4 separate regions of the Homo sapiens genome follow, and regions 2, 3 and 4 are each linked to region 1. Evidence: promoter capture Hi-C in 16 types of primary human blood cells and fetal thymus (Javierre and others, 2016). All regions are on one chromosome and are shown on one strand. The core of a region is centred on a gene start or on the middle of the fragment in contact, and the rest is flanking DNA. Distances in the headings are between cores, read along the strand shown.

Region 1 (3,546 bases), core at 708-3,207:
GCAAGTCATTTCACCTCTCTGAGCCTCAGTTCCTTCCACTGTTAAAGAGAACTGAACACACCTTCCTTGCAGGCCTCCAGGGAAGGAAGGCTGCATGAGCTCGCGCACAAAAAGAGACACAGGGGAGGCGCTGAGTTAATCCTCAGCGCTATTATTAAAACCTCACACCCTTTCTCTCTCTAGCCGGGCCCATCCATTACTCCTCTGTCCCAGCCTGCTTGCATCTTTGACATTAATAACCTTAATATCCCTCCCAGCTGAATAGCATTTGCATCATTTCAAAACCCTAAGCATCTTACCCCAGGTGGGCCACAACAGCCCTGCCAGAAGTAGCCAGAGCTGAGGAAGCCCCTGCACCCTCAAGTTCATCTTCTCACAATGCTCCCAAGTCCCAGAACCAGGGCCAATGGCAAAGTTTGGAGTTGGGCCCAAGAATCCGCACAAACATTCAGTCTTGGGGCAGACCTCAGGAGGGCAAGGGTAGGCCCTGGCTTACCAGAAGGAGCCAAAACCACCCCACCTCCATCACTTGCACCCCAACCCTCCATCTGGCCCCACTGCTCTGACCCTCCATCTGACCCCACTCTGGGCTGCCGGTCCCACTTTGGCCTCCAGCTCCCCAATTCTGGGACCCAGCTGGGCAGCTGGAAAGGGTGGAGTCTGGCCCTTGAATGGACGGCCAAGCCCGAGGCCACCGCCAGACTGTGAGCTCAGTACCCAGACAGATCTCTCTGAAGAGTGTGGGTTCACACCCTTGATGTTATTGGTTCTTTAACAGCCTGTCACAACCCAGGACCCATATTATCACCCTCACAGCACACAAGAAGAAACTGAGGCCCAAAGTGGACCCCTCCCCGACCAAGGTCATCCAGGGGATCTGGGATAGAGCTGGGATTGAACTCAGGTCTCCCTGGTCCCTTGACCCTGGCACTTTCCACTGCCCCATCATCTTTCCTCTTAACTCTTTCCTCCCTACAACTAGGAAGCCCCTGAAGTCTCTCCAATAAACGTGGGCCCCTATGACAAGGCCCAACAATCATCCTCCAATATGGGGGCTGCCAAGATGCCCACCTTTGCTTCCCCTGTCACATTCCCTCCCCACATCTTCAAGCCAACCACCTGGACCTGCCCTGTCTCTGGTAGCGGCTCCCGGGACTGGGCAGCGCCTTCTGCACAGAGTGGCTTTGGAGTGGAGCCAGCGCTCCCGGCATGGGCGGCAGAGGCTGGCAGGTGGGGTGGGGTTTCCCCTCCGCTGGCCTCCTCGGGGCGGCAGGCCCATCCCCACACCCACTGCTCAGCACCAGCCCCTGCCAGCGACGCTTCCCGCCGCGCACTCCCTGGAGGGACACCGCTAGCCGCCCAGCCCAGCTCTCCAGGGGTTAAAAATGCAGCATCCCAAACAAGGGTTAAAAATGCAGTCCCGGGGTTGGGCCGGGCGCGGAGGGATGTTGGCCAAACCGCCGGGGCTGCCAGAGCGGCATCCTCCCCCTGGCCTCCGCAGTCCTTGGGGGCCGGAGTGACTCGAGCGGATCCGGCAGCAAGAGAGGCGCGCGCCGCACCTTCCCGGCACCGGCGCCCCCTCCCCACACCCACACCCCCGCGCCCCCCGCAGCCTAGCCCGGGGGATGCAGGCGCCGGCGGGTCCCGGGCGCGGCGGGCGAGCGGCGCTTACCTTTGTGACAGTCATGCAGAAACTCCGCGGCGGAGCGGGGGCGCGGGCGCGGCGTGCGGGGGCGGCGGCGGCGGCCCGGGGCGGCGGCGGAAGGGGGTCCGGCAGCTCCCGGCTCGCTCCCCGCGCCCCGCCGGCGGCTCGGCCGAGCCTGGGGGCTGCGCTCCGGGCGGGCAGCGCGCAGGGACCGCTCGTCGGCGCTCGCCCGCCGCTCGTCGCTGATGTCAGCCCCGAATGTGCATTTATAATAGATGAGCCTCCTTCGCCGCAGGAAGGCGAGGCAGGAAGAAAGGGAGAGAGGGAGAGGGCCCGGGCTGGGGGGCGGGGGGAGGAAGAGGGGCCGGGAACTCGCTACAAAGGAGGAGGCGGAGGGAGGAGGAGGAGGAAGCGCAGCCCGCCAGCGGCCGTGCCCCGAGCCTCCCGCTCGATCGCCGGCCGCCGGGCACCGCTGCTCCCGGAGTCCGGACGGGCGCCCGGGTCCGCGGCCTTAACCCCTTCGGGCCTGCGGACGCCACGCGGCTGGGCGAGGCTGGCTCCCGGCACCTGCCGGCTGGGAGAACGGGCGGCGCCCCGGGCTCTCGGGTGTCCCGCTGGCCCGGGGACGCTGGTGAAGTCACAGGCTGGACGGCCGAGGCGCTGCGCGGGCAAAGAAGGCGGTCGGGTTCGCCCCCTGGAGGCTCGCAAAGTCGGCCCGTGGGCCGTGAGTGTGGCGCGGCGGGCTGGGAGGGGCGTGGCAGCCGCAAGCCCGGGAGCCCTGCCCGCACCCCCACCTCGCGCTGGCCCGGGGCACAGGGTGGCCAGACGGATTTGTGTAAGCACTCTTTCGAATCTAATTCCCGCCGCGATGACTTGCCCGAAGGCCGCCTTAGTGAGTTTTGCAGAGGAGGAAACTGACGATCAGAGTGGGACGGACGTGGGAAGTGACTTAGACCACAGCACAGGACCTGCCTGCCCGAGCCGTTCCTCCCGCTCTTTCCACTCGGCCGCTAGCTCCCTAAGGAACCTCTTGTTATAGAAGCTGCCCTGCCCTAGGACTGTCTACACTACCACTGAGTGCCGCTCTACTGGTGGAGTGATAACACAGGTGCGTCCTGTGTGTTGATCCAATCCTGACTCGGGGCACAGTGTGTCCTGGAGCTGCTGCGGAGATTTGAGGGACAGTCACCTGAAGGTGACCTCGCAAGTCTTGAGAAAGGAGTCTCCCTCCCAAGCACCTGAGCAGAACCGGTTTCCGCAGATACAGAACCGCGGAGAGGGTGGAGGGGAGGAGTTAGCAGAGGTGGAAGCAGAGGGGTTCTCCAAGCAGGACAGCCTGGCAAGCCCGGAAGTGCTGGCTTCCTGCTCCACGGTAATTACCGGTGCAATTCACCTGGACAGCGAAGGCAACGTCATATATGAGCACCTGCTCTGTGGAAAGTGCTGGGGGAACAGAGAGGAGATGGGATGCCTGCCTTCCGGGAGACCAGTGTCTAGATTGGAGCAATAATAATAGAGTAACCAGCCTCCAGGAAGTGCTTTGTGGGTCATTGTGCAATTTTTTTTTTTTTTTTTTTTTTGAGACCGGAGTAGTCTCACTCTGTCGCCCAGGCTGGAGTGCAGTGGCGCGATCTCGGCTCACTGCAACCTCCGCCTCCTGGATTCAAGCGATTCTTCTGCCTCAGCCCCCCGAGGATCTGGGACTACAGGAACGCGCTACCACGCCCGGCTAATTTTTTATTTTTATTAGAGACGGGGTTTCACCGTATTGGCCAGGCTGGTCTCGAACTCCTGACCTCGTGATCCACCCGCCTCGGCCTCCCAAAGTGCTGGGATTACAGACATGAGCAACCGCCCCCGGCCCTGCCATTTTTAACCACATTTTCTTGGGAGTCCTAAAT
Region 2 (3,546 bases), core at 396-2,895, 320 kb before region 1:
TTACAGGCGTGCACCACCAACGCCCAGCCCCAAGCACCATGTACTTTTATAATTCCAAATTATTTGCTTATGTAATTATCTGACGAATATCTGTAATGTTTATGAGAGTAAGAGCCTTGCCTGTTTCTGTTCATTAGTGCTTCAGTGCCTGGCATATACCAGGAGCTCAAGAAGTGGAAGACATAAATCAATCAACAATTTTACATGAAATCGGTATAGCACTTGGTTCTGACTTGGGTGCACATCACAATCACCTGGGGAGTTTTTTTTAACCCCAAATCCTTGTCTTCAATGCAAATGTATTAAGTCAGAATAGCTGGAGGTAGCGGCTTGTCATCATATATATTTTTTTAATTTCCCAGATAATTTCAGTCTGTAGCAGGGATTGAGAAACAAAGACAGTGTCTCTGTTAGGGTTTGCCAAGAGGAGGTGCCAAAACAACCCTAATAGTACAAGGAGAGTACTTGCAGCCACCCTGGGACCTCCCGAGTGAAGGGAGCCCATCTCTTCTACTGAGAATCTTGGGACCTGGGTTTTGATTTGGCTAAGTGGGAGTACCCCCATCCCCACTGCATACTTCAGAATGGCAAATGCATTACATATGAAAGTAATATGCATAGTGATTCAATCATAATAAACAAGAATGGCCCTCATTCCTCAGGTGAGGTTTTCCTCAGCCCAGGCTCGAAGGAGGGAATTTTCCTTGCCCAGCTCTCCATTAAGGCCAGCCCATGCTGTGAACGGTCTACAGAAGCTTGGCTTTGTAAAATAACTTCTGGCAGTGAATAGCAGAGGCAGGATGCTCCTAAGTGGGTGATGTTCCAAAGATTTCTGGCCTTCTTCAATGGGGCAACCTGAGTTTTGTGTTTTCTACTGCAGAATGCTGAATGGTTTTGCAGGCTGTTTTGTTTTAAGAAATGGTGGGTAAGATATTTTTGGCTTTGGTTGGGGGAAGAGGGAGGAGGTTTGTGGACAGTTGCTAGCCTCAGATCTCTTAGCTAGTCCAGGGTAGAAACCATCATATTTTTATAAAATATGTTATAAATACCATATTTTACTGTACCTTTTAATGATATGTTTAGATTCACAAATACTTACCATTGTGTTACAACTGCCTGCAGTATTCAGTACAGTAACATGTTGTACAGGTTTACAAACCTAGGAGTGATAGGCTATAGTATACAGCCTAGGTGTGTAGTAGGCTATGCTGTGTAGGTTTGTGTAAGTACCGTACACTCTATGATGTTTGCACAGTGATGAAATTGCCTAACACCATATTTCTCAGAACATAGGCTTCTTGTTAAGCAACTCATGACTGTATTGTCCCAAGTCAATATTCAGCCTTCTATCTTAGCTGCTCAGTCTCAGAGAGTAAGACAGGCAACTTCTCAGCGTGCCACCCCTCAAGTCATGACTCTGTGACCAAATATATGTGTCCCAGACACTACGTCCTCACAATCAACCTCTCTCTCTCAATCTTCTTATCCTGTTCTCTGCCTTTCTCTCCTAGCAGAGTGGTTGAACCTGAGAAAAGAAAATATGACTTCAAAAGTGTTTAACTCCCTTCTCTTCACTGTCTTCAGTGTACCTGATCCTGTGCTAAGGATTTGAGTACATTTACAGTAAAACCAACTACTGTACATCATGCGCAGAGTCCTGCAAGGGTGCTCCTACTAGCCAGATATCATTTCACAGAGGGGCCTTGAGCTCACAGAGGTAAATAATTACCCAAGCTCACACACACCTGATTCCAAGGCCATGGAATTAGAAAAATGAGTCACAGGGCCAGGCGCAGTGGCTCACACCTGTAATCCCAGCACTTTGGGAGGCTGAGGCGGGCGGGTCACTTGAGGTCAGGAGTTTGAGACCAGCCTGCCAACATGGTGAAACCCTGTCTCTACTAAAAATATAAAAATTAGCCAGGTGGTGTAGCAGGCACCTGTAATCCCAGCTACTTGGGAGGCTGAGGCAGGAGAATTACTTGAACCAGGGAGGCGGAGGTTGCAGTGAACCGAGATTGCACCACTGCGCTCTAACTGGGGCAACAAAGCAGGACTCCATCTCAAAAAAAAAATGAGACAGACCCTGAGATCAGATCCCAACTACATCACTGACAAACTAAACTTGAGCAAGCCATGTATTTCTCCTGAGGCTCCCGTCTCATCAACAGAATGGAGTGTTACAAGAAGCAAAGTGAACAACAAATGTGAAAGCCCCTAGCAAATTCCTTGAGCACAGTGGGCACTTCATAAGTATGTGTCCATCTGTCTCTGTCTGTTCGTCTTCCCTTCCTCTCTCATTCTTTCTGGTTGGAACAGAGTAGGCTGTTATTAAGATGTTAGCCTGAGAGAGAACATGGTCCACAGTCCCATCTCCTTCAGAATTCTTCCAGTTCTGGGCACTCACTGCTTCATGGCTCCACTCCTTTCCTGGTTGGGTAAAAACGCCAGCTAATACAAAGATGAGTATTAGGAAAACCCATAGATATTACAGTATCTATAATATGGAAACAGTTCAGTGATGGAGAAGCTTCTTCCCTGGAAAATTAAAGGCATTAAGAATCTGGCTGGGGCTTCTGCGACCAGTTCTAGCGAGCTCTTTGGATCCTCTGCCTGTAAGATCCTCAGCATGCCAACATCTCCAGCACTCACAGCACTTGCTCCATCTCGCTGCGAAAAGGCTGAGCATGGGTCTGCATGATTACCAGCTGCTGGTCCAGCCACTGTGTAGCCTGGTCTTGGTACCAACATCATTTGTCTGAGTTTCTGGCCTTGCCCACCACTTCTGGAATTTTTGTTGGGTTATGTCTTACTTAATAATTTTTAGTGTTTTTTTTTAAACATGTATTTTCTGGATAAGAGTCCTTTGTTGGTTATATGTATTACCAAATAGCTTCTACTTCTATTCTGTGGTTTGTGTTATTAATCTCTTTATGAACTCTTTAGATAAGCAGAACTTCTTAATTTTAAAGTCATCGTTTTATCAATCTTTTTCCTAATGGTAGTAGGAGGCCTCAAGGGTGGTAAATATTTTCTTGGAGAGCATGGAGAGAGAGAAGGGGCAAGGAAGGAAGGATGCAGTCAGGAACCCTTTCCCTGAGAGCCTCTTTCTAGTGCCAAACACACACTAGCAGGTGACCCAGGCCGAGAGAGGCACCAAACTCCCTCACAGTGTGAAGCAAGACCACATTTCATGAAAGAATGAAACTCCATAGAAGAGAAACTAATCTGAACTTGCCACACCATGACTCCTTCTAATGGGGAGAAATTGTTCTGCATTCACCAGTCTGTAAACACTGGGGAATTCATCATAAATCAAAGGTGCACTGACTGAGCCACTGACAAGACAGCATCTGGAGTGGGCTTTCTGGTTGAGATGATGGCAGGTGCTGAGCAGGCTCTTTGTGTTTCTCAGAAACAATGCAGCCATGTCCCCAGGTAGGCTTAAAACCCAGCCAGGCTCTTCTCCCAGTCTTTTATCATTTTTTTACAGATGAAGTCTCACCCTGTCACCCAGGCTGGAGTGCAGTAGCACCATCTCAGCTC
Region 3 (3,546 bases), core at 754-3,253, 300 kb before region 1:
AACAGAATCTCCCTCCCTCAATGGGGAATAATTAATTTCCTAAGTTAAAGAGCAATTTTAGAAATTCTGCTGGGTGCACTGGCTCATGCCTTTAGTACAAACACTTTGGGAGGCCTAGGCAAGAGAACAGCTTGAGCCCAGGAGTTCGAGACCAGCCTGGGCAACATGGCAAAATTCAGTCTCTACAAAAAAAAAAAAAAAAAAAAGATATTTAATTAGTCAGGTGTGGTAGCATGCACCTGTAGTCTCAGCTACTCAGGAGGCTGAGGTGAGAGGATCACTTGAGCCCAGGATGTTGAGGCCATAGGGAGCTGAGATTGCACCACTGCTCTCCAGCCTGGGTGACAGAGTGAGCCCTTGTCTCAAAAAAAAAAAAAAAAAAAAAAAAAAAACCTCAAAGGAAAAGGAAAGTAGCAGTAGATTTAATTACATTGGAAAAAATTGCAACAATTATGATAAATGTGTAAAAATCTTTACTAAGTGAAAATCTCATATATATAACAAAAAAGCCCTAAAGGTCCAAACAAATCAATGGGGAAAAAATATCAATAGATAATTATTTTTAAAAAGTGCTGGGTGAGGTGGCTCAAGCCTGTAATCCCAGCACTTTGGGAGGTCAAGGTGGGCAGATCACCTGAGGTCAGGAGTAGTGTGGTGGTGGGCACCTGTAATCCCAGCTACTAGGGAGGCTGAGGTAGGAGAATCACTTGAACCTGGGAGGTGGAAGTTGCAGTGAGCTGAGATCCACCACTGCACTCCAACCTGGCTGACAGAGTGAGAGACTCCATCTCAAAAAAAAAAAAAAGAAAAAGAAAAAAACAAAAATAACTAATAGGCAAAAAAATACATTTAACCTCAATTGTTTGCAAATTCATGCAATACAAATATCATTTTGCCAAATTCAAATAGTGCACATTACTTAAAATTGATTTTAATAAGCAATTCTGCAGTAAGATGAATTTCTGCTCACTATGGTGAGTACATACATTTTTAACTTTCTGGAACCAGTTCAGTCATGTATACCAGTAATCTGAAAAGTGGTGATATCTTTTGACATACGGGTACCATGAGGCTGACTGTATTTCTGTGATGCTGTTCACCATGATGTTTGATTCTCCTGGTTGATTAGATTTACTGTTTTTCTCTTTTAGGGAAGGATACTGCAAGTGCAGTGCCATGTGCTTCATTCGGCCTCACATCAGGTGGCACAACGTACCTGACAGTGGCAGCCTTAGCAGTGCTGAGCTGAGTAACACAGAGTAAACCACTCAGCCTTTAAATCTATGATATAAGCCTTTATATCATTTTTAATATGTGAAATAATCAAAGTCAGATTTTACAATTACCTTAGAAAGAAACTGCAAACATAAGTTCTATTTGTAAAATATTGGAGGGAGGGTATTTTCTAATATATGTTGTAAAAAAATGTTTAAATGGTGAGCATGTAGTTGGTTATATAAGCTTTTTGAATACTTCAACTTACAAAGTGATTGATTCAAACTTGGTACAATTAGAACGGCATCCAGAGAAGCCTTCTTTAATTTTCTATACCACATAGAAAAATGCATCGTCAAAATGGGTGAAGCTGGGCTGCCTCTGAAAACAGAACTATAATGCATTTGTTTTTTTGTTTTTTTTGTTTGTTTGTTTGTTTTTGTTTTTGAGGCTGAGTCTCCCTCTGTAGCCCAGGCTGGAGTGCAGTGGCACGATCTCGGCTCACTGCAACCTCAGCCTCCTGGGTCCTGGTTCAAGCAATTCTCCTGCCTCGGCCTCCCGAGTAGCTGGGATCACAGGCATGTGCCACCATGCTCAGCTAATTTTTTTTTTTGTATTTTTGGTAGAGACGGGGTTTCACCATGTTGGCCAGGCTGGTCTTGAACTCCTGACCTCGTGATCCACCCGCCTCGGCCTCCCAACGTGCTGGGATTATAGGCGTGAGCCACAGCACCCCACCAATGCATCTGATTTTGATTGGATTATCAGTTCAGAAATTTCCCAATACCAAATTCTACCACTCTGTCTAAGGAAGGACTCTCTCCATATTTTAGCTCCTAGATCACCCTCCCTAATCTTTATACTACGTAAAATAAGCTGTCTGCCTCTGCTCAAAAGGGCTGAATGGGATACATGGATACATGAATTGATAGGGTTTTAATGGATTCTTTTGGAAAGGGGACGGTCCCACACCATGCTATGGCCTTCGATGTTATTTTTTAACAACTTCTAAATAACAACATGTTGTTTTTTAAATGTGCCTGAAGATGTATATTTACCATCCAAGAGAGTACAAATTTGAGACTCCAACTTCAGCGCTACTCCACTACATGGCTTCTGTACACCTTAGTGAATTGTGGCACTTGTGAGGGTCAACAAAACTCACCCTGTGGCTGGCTGGCACATGATGGATGGACGTCGAAGAGGGTCAAATCGTTTTATGGTACACGATGGCTAAAACATGGATAGGAATGTCAGGTTGTCTGATACTAAACTATTTTGAAATTCTGAGGTTGCAACCTCAGTCTTTAGAGTCTACACCCAAAGCTTTCTATGGCCCTGTTCTTCCCCCAAAGACACCAGATGTTGGAGAAGTAGGGTCCCATGAGCCTTTTCATTAACGTTTCATGAGGGAGACTTATCCTTCTGTATGGATGTCATCAAAACACCCTGAGAATATACTTACAGTTGAACCATTTTTTCTCACTTGAATAAAATTAACCTGAGTACAGTAGTCCCCCCTTATCCACAGGGGGTGTGTTCCAAGACCCCCAGTACATGCCTGAAACCATGGATAGTACCAAACCCCATATATTCTATGTTTTTGCTATTCACACATACCTATGATAAAGTTTAACTTATAACTTAGGCACAGTAAGAGATTAACAACAGTAACTAATAGTAAAATGAAACAATTATAACAATATTCTGTAATAAAAGGCATATAAATGTGATCTCTCTCCCAAAATATCTTTTTTTAATTTTTATTTATTTATTTATTTATTTTGAGACGGAGCCTCACTCTGTCACCCAGGCTGGAGTACAGTGGTATGATCTTGGCTCACTGCAACTTGTGCCTCCTGGGTTCAAGCAATTCTCCCTGCCTCAGCCTCCCAAGTAGCTTGGATTACAGGCAACTGCCACCATGCCCGGCTTATTTTTGTATTTTTAGGAGAGACAGGGTTTCTCCATGTCGACCAGGCTGGTCTTGAGTCCTGACCTCAGGTGCTCCACCCGCCTCGGCCTCCCAAAGTGCTGGGATTACAGGCATGAGCCACCATGCGCAGTCCTTTTTTAAATTTTTTAATTTATTTTTAATTTTTTGGGTACACAGTAGGAGTATATATTTACGGGGTGCGTGAGATATTTTAATACATGCAATGTATAATAATCGCATCAGGTTAAATGCAATTATTTACCTTCATCTCAAACATTTATCTTTTGTGTTGCAAACCAATTACACTCTTTTAGTTATTTTAAAATGTACAATTATTTTTTACTATAGTCACTCTGTTATACTAGCAAATACTAGATCTTATTCGTTCCAATTAT
Region 4 (3,546 bases), core at 589-3,088, 300 kb after region 1:
ATGCTAAAATAGCTTATGTACTACCACAAGTCAACCAAAACATATGTAGCAAAATCGTTATACAGTTGTAATCTGTAAAACGTGTTATAATCCTCCAGCATAGAAAAGAGGATAATGTCAAACCTGACAATTCTGGTCAAATACCCAAAAATTCGTACAATTAAACTCAAAGGGCAAATCTTAGGCATAACAATGTGCATTTTTAAACTTCCCACCTCAACTAACAGTAAATGATCAAGCTTCCCCACAACATCACGGGATAAGATGTAATTTAAGAATGGCATCATCTCCCACATCAGGTCCAATGCCATCTTAGTAGCCAATATATCTACACCGAGCAACGTGGAGGAATCAGAATCATGTCTTGAGATGTCTGGCTGCGTGACAATCCCTCATGATGCTGCAGCTGCTGCTGGTTCTAGGTGCTTATTTTGACATTAAAGCCCAGCAGCCCACTGAAGGTTTTACGGAACCACTCACTTGAAGGGAGTAAAAATGGATGCCCAAATAACTCTTTCGGAGTTCTTCAATGTTAACCGCTGACCTCCTTAATTTCTGATCAGTTACATCACCAGTTCCACTAAAAGTAAAACCTGGAAAGGCAGCCACCTCCTCCAAATGGCTTGTTCACAGACTATCTAGTAGAGAAGACGACTATTAGATTTCAAGGCCGAGGGTGTGGTTATCTTCCCACAGAGGGAATGAGGGGTAGGGGCTGATGAGGACGGGCAGCAAAACATGGGATGGATTATTAGCCCTGGAAGATGAAGTGGGCATTAGTGGGGCAGGAGGTGGTACAAAAAGGGGAGAAGTGAGTACCTACATGAAGAGAGGGTAAGAGAGGGTGAGGGAGGGGAGGGCCCGTGAATTAACGAGTCCGCGCGCGTCGGAGAGAGGCTGGCTTGGGATGTACCTACCCGTCGAAGCGGACGGTGCCAGTCTGCTGAGTCTGCACCCGGTAATGTTCTAAGAGCAAGCGTACCACCTTTGCGTGTCCATTGCGGGCTGCGATGATGAGGGGCGTGGAGCGCTGCCCTCCCTGCTGGCTGACATAGCCAAGCAGATAGCGGATGTCGCTTTCAGACCGGTTGAGAAGCAAGGCGGCCAGAGTCAGCACCTTGCCCTCGCTGGCCGCCTTGTATACATAGCCAGCCAGGCCCTCCATGGCCGCCGCCAACTCCAACACCCGTTTGGTCGCCACCGCTGCAGCTGCCGTGCGCCCCCGGAGGCCGCGTTCGCCAGCGCTTTAAACCTGGGCCCTCACAGCCCATTCAACAGGGCGCCGTCGCCGCCGCCGCGCCCAGGCAGCAGTGCGGCCCAGGGAAGGCGGAGACGCAGAGGAGGCCGAGTGCCGCGAAGGGCACGTCCGCGACCCAGCCCGCGCAGGGAGGAAGGCGGTCAGGGCCGCCCGCCAGGTCCCAGGCGCCGGCCCTGGACCGAGGGGATCTCCATGGCGGACGCCGCCCCGGGCCTCAGGCCGGACCCCTCCTTCCTGCGGGATGCGACAGGCGCGTGCCCGAGCTACGGGTCGCCGGCCGGGTCCCGAGAGGACCTCGCGCACCCCGGATGGCGAAAGATGGGCGCGTCTCTCCTGACCCGGCCCACCCGGCCTAAGGCCTAACACTGCCTCCTCCTGCGCTTTCCGCCCTTCGCCGTCCCTGACTGGAGGAAACCTGCAGGCTCTCGTCCGCCGAGCTCAGAAGTGCCAGGCGCTGCCAACGGCCCCGGAGATCCTCGCGTAGGGGCCCCCGGGGCGATGCGGAACGCTCCCGCAAGAGCGGCGCCGGAACTTGGGCGGGGAGGAAGACGAGCTTTCGCAGACAGGGCCGGGAGGAGAGGGCGGGAGCGGGAGGGACGCTAAGTGGGGTGTCTCCGCCTAAGCCGACCGGCGGGCACACGCGGGCCCGGTAGAGAAAGGTTCTGCTGCGCGTAGTTGGCCCATCCCGTTTGGGCCTGGATGTCCTCAATGTCCTTGACTCCTGGAACCTCCTCCTGGCCCCTAAACGGCCCTGAGGGTCTCCAGCCAGGGAGTGGGGGCGGAGTGAGGGCGCTAAGCTGATGGGCTAAGGAGACCACCCTATTTTACTATAGACGGTGCGGGTCCTGCTTCTGCCCCTGAGCCGGGGTTAGGGAAGGGGTTGCGCGTACTCGGAGGGTCCATTTCAGGAAAAGGGCGGCGTTTCTGAGTTCCCGAAATGTGGGAGGGCTTGAGAGCCACAACACCAGGCTCTGAGAAGGGACTGGAAGTACGGCCTGACTTTCCCGGAGAAAGGGGTTAAGTGTGAGAGAAAGATGGGAGCGAAGGGGAGCTGCGCTCGCGGTGGAAGGAGCGAGGTATCCTGGGAAGGAAAGCGAGTCCCGCGTTCAGACAGAGCAGGAATCTCATCCTGAGCCGGCAGAACCTCCGTTTTCTCACAGACATCACAAGATTGTTGTTAGGATTTGAAACGATCGTTTATCCAATGAATATTAGAGGTCGACTACGTGCCAGGCTCTGCTTAGCACTAGGGATTCAGTAATGGAACAAATAAGTCAACAAATGATAGACAAGATCAGTTGAACTGGTATCATTACCATTTGCTCTGAAGCAAATGAAATAGAATGATGGGGGCACTCATTTAGTTTGGGTGATCAGACAAGACCTCTATGACAAGTGACAAGAACAGACGGTATTCTAGGCAAAGGGGACAGCTAATATAAAAGTCCTGAGGAGGGAACAGTCTGGTGAGCTCGGAAACAGAAAGGTCAGTGTGGCTGCAGCAGAGTGGGCCACAGTAAGAATGATAGATGAAGTCAGAGGATGCAACACACGTTAGGGCCTAATAACCCATAGCAAAGGGTTTAAGTCTACTCTGTGATGGGGGCATTTGAAGGGTTTTAAAGAGGGAAGTGACAAGATGCTATTTGTGTTTTTTAAAAAGATCACTCTGGCTGCTGTATGGAGAATAAACTCTGGAAGGCAAGAGTAGATAGGGGGACAGGCCTTGGATTAGGATGGTAGGAGTGAATGGTAGGTGATGAAGCTTCTGGGACAGTCTCAAAAAACTCAATATGAAAGTGACTTCCTCCCTCTTCCTCCCTTCCCCAAAGGACAAAATTTACCATAGAGAAAGAACAAATGCATTTATGTGGCTCCAAGGGACTGGGCTCGGCTCAACAAGTTCACATACATTATTTTATTTGAACCCCACCATTCCAATTCTAGGAGGTAAAGGCCTCACTTCCATTGCAGCTATTGGTGGAGGTGTGGGTCACTTCTCAAATTCTCTCCATTCTACAGCTCAGCTTTACCCACTTATTGCAGATCCCTACAGAAACACGAGTTATTTTTCTCCTTACCATAAACAAAAACAGCATTGGCAATAAGGGCTGAAGGTAAGATTCTACTGGTAGCGTCTCTGAAATAGCTGATAGAGAAGTGGGGGAAGCTGGCTGGTTTATTTGGGGACTTCAGGGTCATGAAAAAACCCAGTGTTTGACAGGGACCCAGGCTTTTTGGTCTCGGATTCACACATTCAGATGTGTGATGACTTCCTTTTCTGGCTC

What was found. The method cuts DNA at HindIII sites, captures the fragments that hold promoters and counts their contacts. A CHiCAGO score of 5 or more calls a contact.
Region 2: a fragment that was not itself captured here is called in contact with the fragment with the promoter of CORO2B in region 1 in 3 of 17 cell types (neutrophils, M0 macrophages and naive B cells); the score reaches 5.4 in neutrophils.
Region 3: a contact is called between a fragment that was not itself captured here and the fragment with the promoter of CORO2B in region 1, in 1 of 17 cell types (total B cells). The highest score is 5.0, in total B cells.
Region 4: the fragment with the promoter of FEM1B here is called in contact with the fragment with the promoter of CORO2B in region 1 in 1 of 17 cell types (endothelial precursors); the score reaches 5.6 in endothelial precursors.

The regions. Positions count from the first base shown.
Region 1 is chr15:68,577,404-68,580,949 of GRCh38, reverse strand. CORO2B (coronin 2B) reads right to left here and starts at 1,957. Exons shown (of 12, transcript NM_006091.5): 1 at 1,673-1,957. The coding sequence starts at 1,687. RefSeq lists an enhancer at 902-1,769. The HindIII fragment of the contact is 45,013 bases long and covers 1-3,546 here.
Region 2 is chr15:68,897,948-68,901,493 of GRCh38, reverse strand. No RefSeq gene overlaps it. Among named protein-coding and RNA genes, the nearest start is that of SPESP1, 31 kb to the left of the region's middle. The HindIII fragment of the contact is 1,775 bases long and covers 758-2,532 here.
Region 3 is chr15:68,880,892-68,884,437 of GRCh38, reverse strand. No RefSeq gene overlaps it. Among named protein-coding and RNA genes, the nearest start is that of SPESP1, 48 kb to the left of the region's middle. The HindIII fragment of the contact is 1,080 bases long and covers 1,464-2,543 here.
Region 4 is chr15:68,276,037-68,279,582 of GRCh38, reverse strand. It overlaps FEM1B (fem-1 homolog B), which reads right to left and starts at 1,838. Exons shown (of 2, transcript NM_015322.5): 1 at 918-1,838. The coding sequence starts at 1,165. RefSeq lists enhancers at 999-1,198, 941-1,842 and a silencer at 1,229-1,558. The HindIII fragment of the contact is 2,784 bases long and covers 242-3,025 here.